Linked DNA regions of Homo sapiens: region 1 is linked to region 2. Evidence: promoter capture Hi-C in 16 types of primary human blood cells and fetal thymus (Javierre and others, 2016). All regions are on one chromosome and are shown on one strand. The core of a region is centred on a gene start or on the middle of the fragment in contact, and the rest is flanking DNA. Distances in the headings are between cores, read along the strand shown. Region 1 overlaps CD86 (CD86 molecule). Region 2 holds the start of SEMA5B (semaphorin 5B).

Region 1 (5,881 bases), core at 1,105-3,604, 930 kb after region 2:
ACACGGAATCTCTGGCCCCACCCAAGACTTACTGATTCAGAACCTCCATTTTAACAAGAGCTATAGTTTGAGCAGCTGTTGTAGAGAATCTCTGCCTCTGTCTCCAGAGTGGATCACAGAAAATGACATGAAAATTTTTTTTCCATCCATCCCTCCTCAGACTCCCTCTCCTCCCCATGGGGTGGAAATCACTTTGAAATCCATTCTGAGTGGAACTGAAAGTATTTTGCAATTTATACTCCATAGCACCTCACCAACCACTGGCTTCCATGATCTCACACAGAGCCAGGCATGGGGGATGCTGCTAATCCTTTCTCTGACTAAATGGGGAAAGTTTGGCTCAAGGTCTGTGATCACCAAATGACTTCAGGCCTTCCATTTTATGACCCCAGACCTCAAGCCACCTAGCAACTGGACTTACTGGGATTCCATAGGTGGGTAAGCATTGAGAATCTCTCCCTTCCCCAGCACTTGGGTAAGAGGAATGGTCGAAGTCTAGTTACAATGGGTTGCTATGATGTCAGGAACAAGTCGCTCAAGAATCCAGCTAGATGCCTTCGTAATCAGCTGAAGGAATTTGTTTCAAAGGATAATTAAGGACTTCCTGAGCAATACACTCTACTGTTGGAATGCCACTCAAAAACTGTAATTTGCTAGCCTTATGAAGTCTCTGACCCCACTGGGACTTCAGTGTTCCCTGGCTGCTATCCCCAAATGCATATCTTATATGTTTAAGAATTATCTCTTCTTTATGTTCCTATGCTTATCTGTACTAAAAAAAATTCCTTCTTTTACTAAACTTCCTCCAAAGTTTTACTTGGCCCTTTGAAAGCCTCATTCCATTACTTACTACAAGGAAACTCTCCCACATCTTTAACCCCTTCATTGACTGTTTCCCTGAGGTTATTATTTCAGTGAAATCTGGCTTCACCCAAAGGAAGCCACTTGCTCCAGCCCCAGCTACTGTTTGTTTTATCACACTTTGTGGGGACTTTGAGCAACACCTTCCCCTTTTGAGGTGTCTGACTTTCTCATTGCTTGTAGCTACTAAGTCACTACCACCTTGCTAAATGAGGATTTTGGCATTAGATGCAAGGTCTTGCTAACAATTTGGGTGACTTCTTCATGAATGAGTCTAACAACCTTGCCTCAAATTTCTTTGATCTTGTCAACTCCACAGGTCTACACCCGCAGACTATTTCAGCAGCTGCCCCCCACCTTCTTATGACATAACCCTGAAACTTTTCACCTGGAGCAGCTCAGTCCCTAGAATCTTAATCTCAATATACTAATCTCCGTCCACAACCTCCTATTCATCCAGGTTTTGCTCTTGCTTACTCCTTCTACAACTGTTGTTCAACTTAATCAAGACCTCAGCTTTATCCAGACCCTGTAGTGCAGTGTTTTCCACAAGAACTCTTAGTGATAATGGAAATGCTCTGTCTCTGTGCTGAACAATATGATAGCCACCAGCCCCTGTGGCTATTGAGCAATTGATACATAGCTAGTATGACTGAGAAGATGAATTTTTAATCTTATTTAATTTTAATTAATTGAAATTTAAGTAGTCACATATGGCTAGTGGTTATTATATTGGACAATGCAACAATAGTATGTCTTTGTAATTATTCCTTTCCACAACTTCAATAAACACACCCCTTTGTCTCTATAAAATTTACCCTGGGGACACTCTACTTTTGGTCTACATATCTGTTCTTACAACTGGGCAATTGAGCAGTTCTGGAGGAAATTATTCAGTTGTGCGGACTGGTGACATTCCAAATCTGCAGTGTCCTGTCTCACTTCACTCGGCCTCCAGGCTATTCACCTGGTTCACCTCCATTACTTCAAACACAAACCTTGTGCTACTGCTTTTAGTTTCTCTTTCCCTTGGAGTCAAACTCCCTGAAAGAGTAAGCAGCAATTGCTGCCTTTATTCCCAGCCTCCCACCCCCACCTCTCTACTGAAACTCCCTGACAAAGGTTGTTGGTGACTTCACACCATGGCCAAGGCTTGAGCTCTTTTCAGATCTCAACTCATTTGACCGCTGTGTCAAATGCAAGTGTTGGCATCTCTCCTCATTGAAATGCTCTATTCTTTCCCAATCTCTGATTTCCTTGTTAATTTTCTCAAATCACTCTTTAATTTTGGTAACCTTGAGTGCATGTTCTTGGTCTTCTTATTCTCCATACTTTCCTGGTTTTTCTCCTCTAGCCCCACGGATTCAACTGTCAAGTAAAAGCTAATAACTCCCAGGTGCTTATTGCCAGCCTATAACTTTCACTAGAGTTTCAGATACCTGTATTCAACTTCCTGCTGGATGTCTCTATCTAGATAGCAACAGGTACTGTCTTCCTCCCCTTCAGCCTTCCTCTACTCTATCTCAAGGAATGCTCCCCTGTCTGGGAATGACCAGACAACCCTCTTCTGTCTACAATCATCTAAATCATCTGTATAACCAAGATGAATCATTTGTGTACCCAAAATACCCAACAGAGGCTCTACACAAGTGTGTCTGAGGAGATCTAGAACTACTACAGCCAGAGCTGAACTCCAATATGTTAAGAAAAGGGTAGAGGAGACTAATGTAATTGTCTCCTAACTCATCTGCCTGCTCCGTCCTTGTCCCCGGGTCTAGTTTCTCAAGCCAAAATGATCCCTTAAAAATACAGCTCCAATCACATAATCCTCCTGTTCAGAAGCCTCTGATGCCTTCCACCAAACTGAAAAATATATCCAGATCCCTTCCCCTCACACTGAGAACTACATCCAAAGTCCTTCCCCTGGCCTTACAAGACCTCATGTAATTGGGTCCCCAGTACCTATCAGGCCTCTTTCCCCTGCTTACTCTCCCCAGCCACACTGCCTCCCTTGACATTCCTCCAAAAGATCACACACTCTGTCTCAAGTCCTCTTCTCATGTTGTTCCCTCTGTCCAGAAGGTTCTTCCTCCAGACAGTCTCATAGCTTCTCCTTCACTTCATGTAGGTCTTTCATTAAATGCTACCTCCCAGGGAGATTTCTCTAACCATTCTATTGAAGATAGCATCCTGGGCATTCTGTCCCTCATGCTGACTTATATTTATTGTGGTACTTATCATGACATGACATGACACGGTATGTTTGGTTATTGTCTGTCTCTCCTGAGATGTCTGGGTTCTGATTAAAAATCTATGTGTGATTTTTCAGACCTGACCACAGGCAATTAAAGAGGCTTAATCTGACAAGCCTTGCTGAGGAAGTTGCCCTTTCTACAGCAGACTTGGTGCACAGTCAGTGCATGGCAGTCTCTGAAGGGGGCTGCAATCAAGATCTCAGCCTCCCGCCAGTCATGCTTTTTCACATACTTGCAATCTTAGCCCAGGCACCCTCATTCTTAGGTCTCTTTATCTGAGGCTCTGGGGTGAGGTCTTCAGGCACCTCTGCTGAAGCCTCCTCATCATAGAGAAGACACTTTTCTCCACTCGGACTCAGTACCTAGCACTTTTCCACTCCCTGCCTTGAAGACACTGTTTTCCACTCTGACTCAGTACCTAGTATTTTTTCCACTCCTAGCCCTAAAGACACTATTCCCCACGCTAACTCAGTACTTTGTACTTTTCCACTCCTAGCCCTCTCACCTCATTTTCCTCATGAATTCTCCCCACCCTTGGATTCCTCCACCCCCAGGTCCATAAAACTGCTAGAGCCTTTCATTTGGGGCTTCTTCAATGGTAAGGCGACCCCCTAAGTCTGCACTGATTACCTGACCCTCGACTGGTATACTCACTCTATGTGGGGAAATGGAACAGGCAGAGTCTGCCCTTCCTCCCATTTTAGCCTCTTGATTATACCGTCGTAGTAAGAGATTAAAAGCTGAACTATTTTATTTTTGTTTTGCTGCTATAATTGGCTCCTCTGACACCTGACAACTCAGCTCTCTCTCTCCCAGCTCAGCTGAGCACCTGACATCTCCCATTAGAATAAGCTCCATGACAGCAGGGGCTTTGTCACTTTTCCTCACTGTGACATTTCCAGTACCTGCAATTGTCCCTTACAAATATGAAGCACTCAATAAGTAATTGTTGAAGAAAGGAAAGGAAAAATCTCAAGAATAACTAGGGAAATGCAATTTAAACCTCAGTGAGAAACCATTCTTTTTGCCCATTTGATTGGCACGTATTAAAAAAAATACTGGTAATACCCAGTGTCCGCGAGAGTGTTAGGAAAATGGGTCCTAACTGCTGAATTTACTGCTGGTAAAATTCTAAATTGGTACAACCTTTTTGGAGGACAGTTGGTAATATGTAAGAAAATTAATTATGGGCTTAAGCATTGACTTAGCAACTCAATTTCTTAAGAATTCATTCTACAAAAAGATACATGTGCACAAAATTAGAGGTACACAGGTATTCATTGTTTATAAGAACAATACACTGGAAATAAGTTAAATGGTTTAACAAATAATGATACATCCATACAAAGTAATGCCATGTAGCTGTGAAACAGAAAGCTATAGGGCAGTACACTATTATAACTAATAGCATGGATTCTGGACAGCGTGAGTTCAATCTCAGCTCAACTACTCACTGCCTGTGTTACCATAGGCAAATTACTTAACTTCCCTGTGTCTCAGTTTCCTCTTGCAAAAAGCAGGAACAATAATGGTACCTACCTCATAGGTTTGTTGTGAGGATTAAAGAAATGAATATTTGAGTTAGTGTTGGATCAAATACTGGCCTGTGGTAAGCATTAATTGATTTACTTGTTTTTGTTTTTTTATTTATTTTTAACATTATTAATGATAGAGAACAATGTCTATCGACATAAAATCAATAATTTATAGATAAATTTACTCAAAAAAAATTTAAATAAGTATATTTAGGATACTTAAAAAGATATTTGAAGTAACATCAAAAAGTACAAGAAATTATAAAACATAAAAATAGATAGGCCATGCCTATAATCCCAGGACTTTAAGAAGCTGAGAAGAGATAATCACTTAAAAGGAGTTCAAGACCAGCCTGGGCACAAAGCGAGACCCCGTCTCTAAAGCAAAACAAAACAACAACAAAAAAAACTAGCCAGGCATGGTGGCATGTACTTATAGTGCCAGCTATTCAGGTGGCTGAGGCAGAAACATCTCTTGAGCCTGGGAATTAGAGGCTGCAGTAAGCTTTGATAGCACCACTGCACTCCTCTAGCCTGGGTGACAGAGTTTTTTGCTTCCATAAATCTCAACAGTACTTCTGGGGACAAAATACCAGGTTACATATTTTGGAAATGGTATTAAAACTCCCCTCTCACAAAGGAAAAATAAGCCACAGTCTCTCAAACACTTGCTTCTTCCAAAAAAAATGTCTGCTTGCCTTGGGAGCCTCTCTGTTCCATACCAATTTCACTCTTGCTCCCAAACAACCCTATACACATCCTATTCAGTGACTGTCTTCCACTAAATCAACTTGTCTGATTGCTCATTTTCTCTGGAACCCACTAAAAGCCCTCCTGAAACAATCAACTAATTTGGGGGTAAGATACTCCCTACTAGATAACATATATCTATTTTGAAAAACACTGAAATGGTGGCTTAACATAAAGGGGTGAATCCAATAGAACTATTAGGCTCCATGACAATTCTTTGGGAATGATAGGTCTCGACTGTCTATTCACCTCCAGGTGATGGTTTTAATGAGGGCTATCAACAACAGCAGGAAATGGGAGTCAAAAGTAACCACCCACGCAGATATCTGCAAAAATCTTGGGAGGAAAACAGTGGACCTTTCCACAGGAATGAGCTTTTGAGCCAATCTTACATAAATCTTAAGGTGGGCCGGGCGCAGTGGCTCATGCCTGTCTGTAATCCCAGCACTTTGGGAGGTCGAGGCGGGCAGATCACCTGAG
Region 2 (5,874 bases), core at 2,729-5,228:
GTGAAGGTCAAAGGGGATAGTATATGGCAAATAGTTTTGTAAACTGTAAAGTGCTATACACAAGGAAAGGAACAAGTGTGCAAATACGGTAAAGAGCATAATGTAGAGCAGGATTTAAAGAAGTATCTTCAGGTAGAGACAGAATCATAGAATACATGTGCAAGGAGAAGCTTACAAACCAGTGGATCAACCCCTTTCATTTTATCCAGGAGGAGCTAAGGTTGGAGAGATTAAGAGGCTTGTCCAAGGACACTCAGCTCATCAGTGGCCCAGCTCATCCTAGGACTGGGGAGCCCTAACTGCTGGTGCGGTGCTCTTTCCACCACATGAAACACCTGCTCACATTTACTGCTTCAGCTCTCTCTGAATCTGTTAACCAGGGGCAAGTAATTCTTCAAACAGAAATCTAATTATATCGCCTTGTGCTTTTATACATGCTACTTCCTCTGCCTGGAATACTCTGCCTCCTCCTGCTTCTCTGTCTGGCAAATTCCTGCCTTATCTTCCATTCTCAGCTAGAATGGCCATTTCCAATGAAGACTTCTTTGTCCTGTTTGGTAGGATGGTAACTGGCTCTCCATGTGCCCGCAGAGCTCCCATCCTGTGGCAGTCCTTGCATTTGCTATGATTACGTCTGCCTCCCCTGCCTGCCTGTGAAGCTCTTCCTATGACCTCTCTGCCTAGCTTAGTGAGTGACACTTAAATGGGAAGGAAGGAAGGAAGGAAGGAAGATCTCTTCTTTCACATTAGTTCAGGACAATGGCAAAGCAGTCATTCAGTGACACTTCAGTTCCTCTGACCTGAGCAAGGTTTTGGTTCACAAATTGACAATGACTTCTGGGGTGGGAATTTTCTTTTTTCTTTGCCATCCCCAGGCACAATGAGCAGGCAATTCTGGGAGCAGAAAACAATTTGGACATTATACGTGCTGTCTTTTTATTTTCAATTCTCTGTCTCCTATTAGTATATGACTGGCTGTTTGCCTTTTGCTGCAAGACAAGGTTTGTGTTTGTGCCTGGGCTATGCACAAGCATGTGTACACACACACACACACATAGAGGGGAGAGAGAGAGAGAGAGAGAGAGAGAGAGAGAGAGAGAGAGAGAGAGAGAGAGAGATGGCCTCTTGGGAGAGCCTGCACTCATTTTTTAGCTTTATCTCCCAGAAAATGCCCTCAGGTGGGAGGAAGAAGACAGTGTTGTGCTCCTAGCTTTTCCACCCTTTCCTGCTCTTGAGCATGAGAATTTGGATCTATTTCTTAAACTCTTTCAACCTTAGTTCAAGATAAGTTTGGAATTTCTAGGTCAAGAGTGAATCCTAAAAACTCCGTCACCCCCTATATTCACCGCTCTTTAGCTTGTTTGCTTGAGATAACACTGTGTTAATTACTATATTTCCATTCTGCTTAATTACAATGTTTCGGTAGAAGAAGAATTGCTCCTAACAGAAGCAATTATCTTATAGGTTATTGCAAAGGTCTAAGGAAGGTGGCAGAAGCTGGTTGTGATACTGTGGTGATGGAATCAATGCTCCAGGTTTTGTTCCAAGTAAATGATTCAGAGATTCTAACCAGGCTGGGTTTGCCAAAGAGCAGGTGGTAAGCCAGGCCAGTAAAGAAACTGTCTCTTCCGGAGGGTTGGGCTTCTGAAGCTCTCTTGTATTGAGAGCTCTTGAGTAATCACTGTTAATCAATACAATGCTTTAGGATGCAATTAGGATTAATTAGCCCAATGTTGCTAGCTGCCCTGCTACTTGGTCTGTCTCTTTGGGTGCCTCCTTGTCCTGGCTCCTGCTTCCCCTGAAAAGGAAAATTTCCCTCTTTGTGTCCCCAGCCTGGAGTCTCCTCTCTTCCCTTCCTGTGCCAAGCCCCCAAACCCCCTCTCCACTTTATAACATGGAGAGGGAGAGCCAGGAAAGGCCTTGACATGATAGTGGGAAGAAAAGAATGAACACAATCAAAACATGGTAGCAAACAAGAGGGCAGGTGAGAGAATGTGTGAAGGGTGGAGAATATTTTGGTTATCTTTCAAGGGAGAGCTGTGGCTGACAGAGCCACTCAGAAGGCATTTTGTCTATTCTCCCAACCAGACAAATTGGAAGCTCTCCTGTTCATTCCCTGGTCCTGCAGTATGGAATAGCTTCGTGGTTTTTTGTGTTAATTAAAAGGTATCTCTATATTGCACATACTTCTATTTTTTGTGATGACAAAAACATTCCCCATGGCTCTGCAGGGAATGGGGGTTGGGGGGGGGGCACGCTCATTGCAGTGGAAAGGTTCCACGGTGGAGATCAGGAGACCTATCCCTATCTCAGCCTGGGACTCTGGGAGAATGGTCCAGAGCTCATTGTCCTTGTTGATAAAATGATAGATTTGGACTCAATATCCCATGCTGCCTCTTCCAACTTGATTTTTACCCCAGACTGGGCTACCAGACTGGTATGCCCACACATGCCCGTTTCCTTTCTTTTCTTCTCTGCATCTCTGCCTTTGTGTCCAGAGCGTGTTTTCCCTTTGCAAGTTTCTCTCCATTCTGCACATTATGAGTTTCAGCATTTCTGTTGCCCTAGAAAGTCTATCTTTGAGATCTTGCACTGTTTCTCTTTTTACAGTGTCTCATAAACTCCCTTCTTGGATTCAGAACCACCCTTTCTTTCCCATTATCCTGTCAAACTGCTTCTTGCCATGGTCCAGGGGTAGGAGGATGGCAGGCAGGAGGTGCTTCTCTGGGGCTCTTAGTGTCTCAATTCTTCTGCTTTATCTGGGTTTTCCTTTACCCAGAATTTTATTATGTAAAATGCTTCACTCAGACTTTGTTCTAATTATCCAATTTTTGGCATACTCTAGAAAGTCTTTTGATATTTTCCTTCCTCCAACTTATCTATTTTTATTTCATAGTTCTCTTTGGTTATCTCTTAGAATCACACTTTCCTGGTTTTAATTTTTCAAATCCTTTGTCTTTCTCACTCGTTCTTAGGTCACCTTTTTTTACATTTTCAAATATATTTTTTGTTCAGCAGAGGGCTCCCTTCCCATCCCTCTTGCAGCCCGGGCAGCTAGGATTTGAAGCTTGCCCCTTGAATCTTTCTCTCCCGCCTTCTAGCCATCAGAAACACTAGATCACTTAAACTTGTAAACAATTCGGCCTCGCTCCTTGTGATTGCGCTAAACCTTCCGTCCTCAGCTGAGAACGCTCCACCACCTCCCCGGATCGCTCATCTCTTGGCTGCCCTCCCACTGTTCCTGATGTTATTTTACTCCCCGTATCCCCTACTCGTTCTTCACAATTCTGTAGGGTGCGTATTACTAACCCCAGTTTACAGCTGAGGAAACTGAGGCTTGGAGAGGTTCGCTCGGTATCGTACAGTTTGCAAGGTTAACCCTAATCCGGCCAGTTCTGGCTTTCCAGCCCAGCCCAGCAGCCTAGCCTCCCTCTCTGCCGCTGCAGGTTATAACGGCTCTCCCCCGTTTTACACGAGGTCCCTTCCCCTTCAAATCCACAGGCAGGAAGATCGTTCCGAACTGACGGGGCTGGGGAATGTGGGAGTCCGGAGTGGGGTTTGGGGGAGCTTCCTCAGGCCCTGAGTGTTGGGGTGGGCAGGCCGCGCCGATGGCCCTCGGGGATGTCACATTCGAGATGGGGTGACCGAGAACGGCAAGGCGGGATGTGGCAAACGGCGGCAAGTGCTCGGAGTCCTAGGTCTTGCCGCCGGAATGCCGGCCGGGGAAGGGGCTTCGGCCCACCGGGCTGGTCACCACACTCGGCAGGCCCGGGGCGGGAGTCGGCCGAGCAGCCGCGGGATGCAGGGCGCCCCCTCGCGCTCCTCCGCGCGCCTCGAGGCTGGCGGGTGCAGCGCCCGCCGCGGCAGGTCTGCTCCAGCCCCCTCCTCTTTTTCGCTCCCGCTCCCCTCCTTCTCTCCCTTTGCTTGCAACTCCTCCCCCACCGCCCCCTCCCTCCTTCTGCTCCCGCGGTCTCCTCCTCCCTGCTCTCTCCGAGCGCCGGGTCGGGAGCTAGTTGGAGCGCGGGGGTTGGTGCCAGAGCCCAGCTCCGCCGAGCCGGGCGGGTCGGCAGCGCATCCAGCGGCTGCTGGGAGCCCGAGCGCAGCGGGCGCGGGCCCGGGTGGGGACTGCACCGGAGCGCTGAGAGCTGGAGGCCGTTCCTGCGCGGCCGCCCCATTCCCAGACCGGCCGCCAGCCCATCTGGTTAGCTCCCGCCGCTCCGCGCCGCCCGGGAGTCGGGAGCCGCGGGGAACCGGGCACCTGCACCCGCCTCTGGGAGGTGAGTCCCGGGAGCCCCGGGCGCTTCCCCTGCGCGGGTTGGGGCTGCAACTTGCAAACTTCAGCAACTCGGGTGGGTATCGGGGTAGAGAGGTAGGGGTCCGGGCTCTGGCAAGTTGAAGCCAGGTAGGTGAGGCTGCGGGCGGGAGGACAGGGGGTCCCCTGGCTTCCGCGCCTCCCGCTGCCACCTCGGCTTGAGAGCCCTCATCGCTGCTGCGTTCCCGCCGCCAGCCAGCTTGGGTCCGGGTTGCACTGGGCCCTGCCAGGGCTGTGGTCGGCGCATCTGGGCTGCAGCGGCGATGGGGACCCGGGACCCAGGCCTGGAGAAGGAGACGGACGAGTGAGGCTGAGGGACGGAGGGACAGAGGTGCGGAGATGGAGGCTCAGAGAGGGCCGGCTAGTAAACAGCACTGAGGGAGAGTGCGGGCGGCGAGGCGCGTGGGAACGCGTGGCCCGCCCAGAGTGTGAAATCTCCCGCTCAGGGACGTCCCTGCTCCACCGCCGCCGCCTGCGGAGCCGCCGCCCGGATTCTTCCCAGACCCGCCTCCAGGACACTCTTGCCCTGACCAGGCCTGCGGAGCGTGAACTCTGCCCACCAGGCTCCAGGGGCAGTGGCTCAGGGCCCCGCACTCCCGGCTGGGAGGGTGGAGAGGGGTGCGGCAGCTGGAAGCAGGGACGCGAGCGGCGATTTCCCGATTTATGTTTCTCATGGTAATTTGTCTTTGTGGTTGGGGCTGCCCATTCACTTTCCGCTCACGTCCTGCGGGAGATCCAGCGAGGAGGGAGGGAGCGGGGGGCGCTCGGGCACAGAGAGGGATGCAGACGGGAGAGGGGATCGGGGACCCGCGCGGGGCGGGAGCCAAGAGGGAAGTGGTCGCCGGACCGGCGGAGGAAGAAGGCGAGGCTCGAGAAAACCCGGCCCAACGGAGCCGACTCCTTTGCCCACCGCAAACTTTAAACAAGGAGGAGGATCACCTGCAGCGCCGTTCTGGCCCCCTCCTCCCCGCCCCCGCCCCCCACCTCGAGCCCAGTCTTTGGGTAGTTCCGACTGCCCGCCGCGCCAGGCGGGAGTGGGCCGAGAGTCTGGATGGGGAGAGAGGAGCGCTGGATTCTGCCCGCACCCCTGCGATCCTGCCCAGGCTTTCTGCAGAGGGGCGGGGTGAGAGCAGCAGGAGCCGGGAGGGCGGGCTACCCTGGCATGCACTCCTTCCCGGCCAACGGAATTGGGACTGAGGGTTTGGAAGCTTGCCTGTGTCTAGACCTCACCACGATCCTACCTTCTCTGGCCCTAACCCCATCTTTTTCCTTCAGCCCCTAGTGAATCCGACCTCCTTCCGCTTTTCTCAGGCACCCCAACCCACTTCGGCCTCGGGGCCTCTCTCCACAGCCCTCCCTGCCTGCTTGCTCCTCGGCCTCCCCACTTCAGCTCATCTTTTTAAGCCTGTTCTCTTCTTGACAATCAGCAGTGGCCTCTCACCTTTTCTAAGCCGGGACAGATGACCTTGAGGAAGGGGCAAGAGGGGAACTTGAACCTTGTAACTGGACCTCAAGATTACGGAAAAGGGGGGCAGATTTGAAAGCAGCTTGGAAAGAAACAG

What was found. The method cuts DNA at HindIII sites, captures the fragments that hold promoters and counts their contacts. A CHiCAGO score of 5 or more calls a contact.
Region 1: a contact is called between a fragment that was not itself captured here and the fragment with the promoter of SEMA5B in region 2, in 4 of 17 cell types (fetal thymus, total B cells, activated CD4 T cells and 1 more). The highest score is 7.5, in fetal thymus.

The regions. Positions count from the first base shown.
Region 1 is chr3:122,095,412-122,101,292 of GRCh38, reverse strand. All of the region lies in intron 2 of CD86 (CD86 molecule), which reads right to left. Among named protein-coding and RNA genes, the nearest start is that of CD86, 43 kb to the right of the region's middle. RefSeq lists an enhancer at 44-233. The HindIII fragment of the contact is 5,609 bases long and covers 1-5,158 here.
Region 2 is chr3:123,025,867-123,031,740 of GRCh38, reverse strand. It overlaps SEMA5B (semaphorin 5B), which reads left to right and starts at 3,978. Exons shown (of 23, transcript NM_001031702.4): 1 at 3,978-4,277. RefSeq lists an enhancer at 2,867-3,374. The HindIII fragment of the contact is 2,453 bases long and covers 3,070-5,522 here.